Regions from separate parts of the Homo sapiens genome. Here region 2 is linked to region 1. Evidence: promoter capture Hi-C in human tissues and cell types (Jung and others, 2019). All regions are on one chromosome and are shown on one strand. Each heading gives the region's core, a stretch centred on a gene start or on the middle of the fragment in contact. The rest is flanking DNA. Distances are from core to core; before and after follow the strand shown.

Region 1 (2,773 bases), core at 118-2,617:
AGGCAACAATTTGGTCACAAAAGGAAAATCAACTGGGGAGGAAGACAAGAAAAGCCAGCGAGGGCTGAGTCCGGAACCTGCGTCAGCACCCGTGAGTCCCCGAAGAGGAAGCTCCACAGGACCTCCGCGGTCAGCCCGGCTCCTGGGCCACACCCTGACATTAGCCCTCCCGGGGCACACTCTGTGTTGGTTTTTTAAAATTCTGATGGCTGATTTCCTGGGTTTGAGCTCCTAGCCCTGCCAACTACTAGCTGTGTGACCTCCCCTCCGGCTTCAGGTTCCTCTTCTGTGAAATGGAGACAGTAATAACTACTTCAAAGATTGTGGTGAGGATTAAAAACAAAACAAACACATCCCCCAAACCGCAAAACCACACTTCACCTACAGTCCACAGCGCTTAGTGGAGACCCTAGAGAACAGCAATTACTCGATACACTATTGGCTTTCATTGCAACTCTTCCAGGAATAAAATGAATGAAATGTTAGTTGAGGAAAGGATGCAACAAGGGGGAACAAAGGCACACATGTATCTCATCAAAGCAAACCGCTTTGTTCTCGATATGACTGTGACATGGGTGTTCAGACGCTAACACCAGCGTTCGCCAGCTGTGTTACCCTGAGAGTGTCATTTCACCTCTCAGGGCCTCAGTTATCTATAAAATGGGAATGACATGGCACTTGTCCCTGCAGGCCATCAGGAAATGCTTGGAAAGCATGTTTCGAGGTGCCTGGGGCACAGTCAGCTGTCAAAGGGGGATGGCTATGCTGTCCCTTTCTATTTTTTTTTTTTTTTTCTGAGATGGAATCTCACTCTGTCACCCAGTCTGGAGTGCAATGGCGACATCTCAGCTCACTACAACTTCCACCTCCCGGGTTCAAGCGATTCTCCAGCCTCAGCATCCCGAGTAGCTGGGATCACAGGCATGCGCCACCATGCCCGGTTAATTTTTGTAATTTTAGTAGAGATGGGGTTTCGCCATGTTGGCCAGGCTAGTGTCAAACTCCTGAGCTTAAACAGTCCACCTACCTCGCCTCCCAAAGTGCTGGGATTACAGGCGTGAGCCACCACGCCCAGCTGGTCTACTATTCTTTAGGATACTGCTATTGTCATCATGATCTGGACCAAGCGAAACAGGAGGAAAGAGAAGTAGAAATCTCACCCCGGGAGCTACCGCTGGTCCTTGGAAGGAAGAAGTACTGTACCTTCTCTGCCCGGGTCAGCAGGAGCCTGGGCCATGCTGACAGCAGCTGCAAGGAGTCGGAGAGACTTGGCAGGTGTGCAGGCTTCTGCACTGTGGCCCTGAGAGGGTGGGCTAGGTCGAGGCTGGGGCTTCTGAAGTGGCCGAGCCTGGTGCTTCTTGCAGCTCTGAACCCACAAGGGGAGGGATGCCAGCTTCCACTGGGCAGGTGTCAGCTGCTTACAGCCCGGAAATAGATGCCTAGCCAGGCCGGCCAGATTCGGTTTCAGGAGAAAAAGAAAATGAAACTTCTCTGTTCGTCTTTTGAAAGAAAAAAAAAGTGGAAGCCAGGTGGATGAGCAAGACAGAGTTGGGGACCTGACTTGATGTTGACAGGGAGGAGCTGTAAACTTGGCAAGACCAGAGCGTCCTCCGAAGAGGCCTTTGAGACAGAGGACTTCCCTCACCTTCCCCGTTCCAGGCACAGCCCACCTGGACCTCTACATTTTTATTTTCTGAATCAGCATCAGAGAACTGAAGAAAATAAAAATAAAAAAAAGAGCATGCACCACGTGGAGGGGGATGCCAGGGCGTGGCATCACTCTGATGATGTGAGGGGCTGGGGCTGGTTATCTGGTTTCTGTGTTTTTGTTTGTTTTTGAGACAGGGTTTCTGTCATCCAGGCTGGAGTGCAGTGGCGTGATCACGGCTCACGGCAGCCTCGACCTTCCGGACTCCAGCGATCCTCCCACCTCTCAGCCTCCCTAGTAGCTGGGACCACAGGCCTAGACCACCATGCCCGGCTAATTTTTGTATTTTCTGTAGAGATGGGGTTTCATCGTGTTGCCCAGGCTGGTCTCAAACTCCTGGGCTCAAGCGATCTGCCTGCCTTGGCCTCCCACAGTGCTGGGATTCCAGCCGCAAGCCCCCACGCCCGGCCCCGCTGGTTCCTGTAGTACTTCCTCCTCGGGGACTCACAGGTGCTACAGAGGCACCGTCCCCAGCTCTCAGTGGCTTTTCTTGTCTTCTTCCAGTTTGTTTCCCTTGCCCACACTAGGGGCAGAACATTTAGGTGCGTGAAGGCCCTGAGATTGTTCTTGTGTGTATCCATGTGAGCCTCTTTAATGAACACCTATTATGCGTTTTCCAATCTCAAGTGCTCCTCCAACCCATCTACAGGGTAGGGGCCAGTTCTGTCTTCTTCTCAGGGGGGAAACTGAGGCTAGAAAGGCAAGATCACTTGTCCAAGGCCACACAGAGTCCATGACAGAGCTTGTCCTGTCCATTCCCCAATTGTGTTTCCTGATCTATAACACCCAGAAGTCACTGGTGAATCACCCTTAGTGCACAGATGGCGTGGAGTTCCCCGCCTCATCATAAAACTTGCTTATTAATTCCAGAGTCAGATGCCTGGGGTCAGCAGCCGAGTGGTTCGGAATGCAAGCCTGGGTCAGCATGCTTGGGTCCAAACCTGGCTCCGCCATTTACCGGCTGTGTGACCTCGGACAAATTATTTAACCCCTCTGTGCCTCAGTTTCCCCATGTGTAAAAGGACTTAATCAAAGGACCTAGCGCATGGGGTCGAGGTGAGGACC
Region 2 (2,773 bases), core at 143-2,642, 150 kb before region 1:
GAGCGTGGGGGTCAGAGCCTGGGCTTAGGGATTAGGTGAGCACCTGTTGGAATCCTGGATCAGGGTCCCATGAGCCAGCGTGGCTTATGGTCCTTAGGCACCCTTTCCACCCCTACCCCAGGCCCTTGCTGTCCCCTGCCTGGCCTCCCTCTCTCACAAGACTCTCTCCTTTTGCTCAGTTGTCAAATTCTCTCACCACCCCCTTAAGAAATGATTAACTCACCCTCCTCTTCCTAGAGCTCCCTGCTCCCATTGCTGCCCTTCCTCCACAGCATGGACACCCTCTGTGCCACCTGGTATTTCACTGACTCCTTTAGGCAAGGACTCCATCCCTTTTATTCCTTGCACTTAGAATAGCACCTGGTACACAGCAGGTGTTCCATAAATATTTGTTCAATACACTTAATAAATGGGGGCTGGAGCGGTGACCACACCTGTAATCCCAATACCTTGGGAGGCCAAGGAAGGGGCATTGCTTAAGCCCAGGAGCTCAATAGCAGCCTAGGCAACATAGCGAAAAAATTAAAAATTAGCCAGGTGTGGTGGTGGGCACCTGTGGTCCCAGCTACTTGGGAGGCTGAGGTGGGAGGATTGCTTGTGCCTGTAAGCTCAAGGCTGCAGTGAGCAGTGATCACACCACTGTACTTGATATGGTTTGGTGGTGTCCCTACCCAAATCTCACCTTGAATTGTAATAATCCCCATGTGTCAAGGGCAGGGCTAGCTGGAGATAACTGAATCACAGGGGGATAACTGAACAGTATGGGTTCCCCCGTATTGTTCTTGTGGTAGTGAATAAGTCTCACAAGATCTGAAGGTTTTATAAATAGGAGTTCCCCTGCACAAGCTCTCTTGCCTGCCGCCATGTAAGACGTGACTGCTCCTCATTCGCCTTCTGCCATGATTGCGAGGCCTCCCCAGCCATGTGGAACTATGAGTCCATTAAACCTCTTTCCTTTATAGATTACCCAGTCTTGGCTATGTCTTTATTAGCAGCATGAGAATGGACTAATACAGTACTCCAGCTTGGGCAACAGAGCAAGACCCTCTCTCTAATAATAATAAATAATGATAAATGGTATGGCTTATGGTTCATCGCCAACAATGGAACCACATTTTGATCCTGCATCCGAGTTGCCAGAACTTTCAGGTACCCGTGCAGCAGAGATTTCCCATCTCTGGAATAAAGAGCAGGAGGAGGATGATCACTGCACAAGCAGCCGGGGGGCCTCACAGGTCCCTACATCCTGGGAGTGTACAGAGAGAAGAAAAGGAAGCTGTGGACTCGCCCCCACCACTCTGTGAAGGACTCACTGAGTTCTGAAAGCTTCCACAAGTGTCCGGGCAGCCCCTCAGCTCTTCACAGCAGGAAGCGGATGTGCAGACAGCCATAGCTCATTGTTGCAGCCTGGCATGTTTCATTAGTGGTTTCACAATCCACACTCTGGCCCTCTCTTCCTCTCTGCCTGCGGGGGGACGCTGGGGAGGCGAGTTCTGCCCCACAGCCTTGCACCTGAGCTCCGTCTGCTCCACGTTGCCTGAGCTCTAGCTCCCAGGGAGCGTCTGAAAATGCCCTGGCCAGAATCCCTGGGGAGCTGCAGCAATCCTGAACCGGGCCTCATCCCAGAGTTCCCGTGTATTTCATGCAGGTGTGGCTTGGGCACTAGCAGTTTTTAAAGTTCCCTAGGGAATTCTAATGCACAGCCAAACTTGAGAATTGCCCTGTTAATGGATCTTAGTGAATAGAAATAATATTAACTATCCTTTATGAAGCTGCTTCTGCCTGCCAATGCTTCTTCGCAAATGTCCCAAATCGAGCTCCCTCTGGGGGCCAGGCAGGGTGTGTAATTGGAAGAAGTGGACTGAGGGAGAGACAATAGGGAAAAGTGGGGACTGTGGTGAACTGGGGAACCACGGCCCATCCCAAAGGGGCAGCCACGGCTCAGTACAGCTGATTGTCAACACCCCAGAAAGCAGATCCAGTGGGTGAGAGCCTCCTACGAGTTAAGAGAAACAGGAAATCTGAATTTTAATGTGAAATTTGCCAGTTAAAAAATATTAGCAACTCATGGAGATTGGATGGGAGGCGAATCATGCTCCTTGGTTGAGTGGAGCCTGTGGGTGCCCAGTTTGAGGCCCTTGCTTCAGGTCCATTTATTTTTTCTTTGCTGCAATGTCCATGGGAGCTAGATATTTCCTATTCTCTTTTTAGAGGTGAGGAAACAGACTCAGAGAGGTAAAATTGTTTCCAATTTGCTGAGGTAGGCAGAGTAATAGCTCCCAAAGATGTCCATGTCCTAATCCCTGCAACCTGTGATGTGCTACCTTCCTTGCCAGGGGAATTAAGTGGCAGATAGATTTAGGGTTGCCGATCAGCTGCCTTTAAGAGAGGGAAGTTATCATGGGTTGCTGGGTGGGTCCAGTATAATCACAGGGGCCCTTTAAATGTGGAAAAGGGAGGTAGGAGGGTCTGTGTCAGAATGAGGAAGACAAGACCAGTCTTTCCTGGCCTTGAGGATGGAGGAAGAGGCTATGAACCAAGGAACGCAGGCTTCTAGAAGCCAGAATAGGCAAGAAAATGGATTCTTCCCCATAACCTCCAGAAGGAGTGCAGCCCTGCCAACACTTGGATTTTAGCTCATCTTAGACTTCTGACTTCCAGAACTGTAAGAGAATCACTTTGTGCTGTTTTAAGCCACTGAAGTTGTGGCAGTTTACAGCAGCCCCAGGAAATGAACGCACCTACCCAGCTAAATAAGAGACAGTGTCAGGAT

Evidence for each region. Contacts are between HindIII fragments. The study calls those that stand out against the background at their distance.
Region 2: a fragment that was not itself captured here is called in contact with the fragment with the promoter of ZBP1 in region 1 in 1 of the 25 tissues and cell types used here (ovary).

Annotation. Positions count from the first base shown.
Region 1 is chr20:57,619,059-57,621,831 of GRCh38, forward strand. ZBP1 (Z-DNA binding protein 1) reads right to left here and starts at 1,368. Exons shown (of 8, transcript NM_030776.3): 1 at 1,204-1,368. The coding sequence starts at 1,237. RefSeq lists enhancers at 1-67, 1,148-1,197, 1,328-1,617. The HindIII fragment of the contact is 12,502 bases long and covers 1-2,773 here.
Region 2 is chr20:57,471,971-57,474,743 of GRCh38, forward strand. No RefSeq gene overlaps it. Among named protein-coding and RNA genes, the nearest start is that of CTCFL, 52 kb to the right of the region's middle. RefSeq lists enhancers at 1,037-1,538, 1,539-2,038. The HindIII fragment of the contact is 7,450 bases long and covers 1-2,773 here.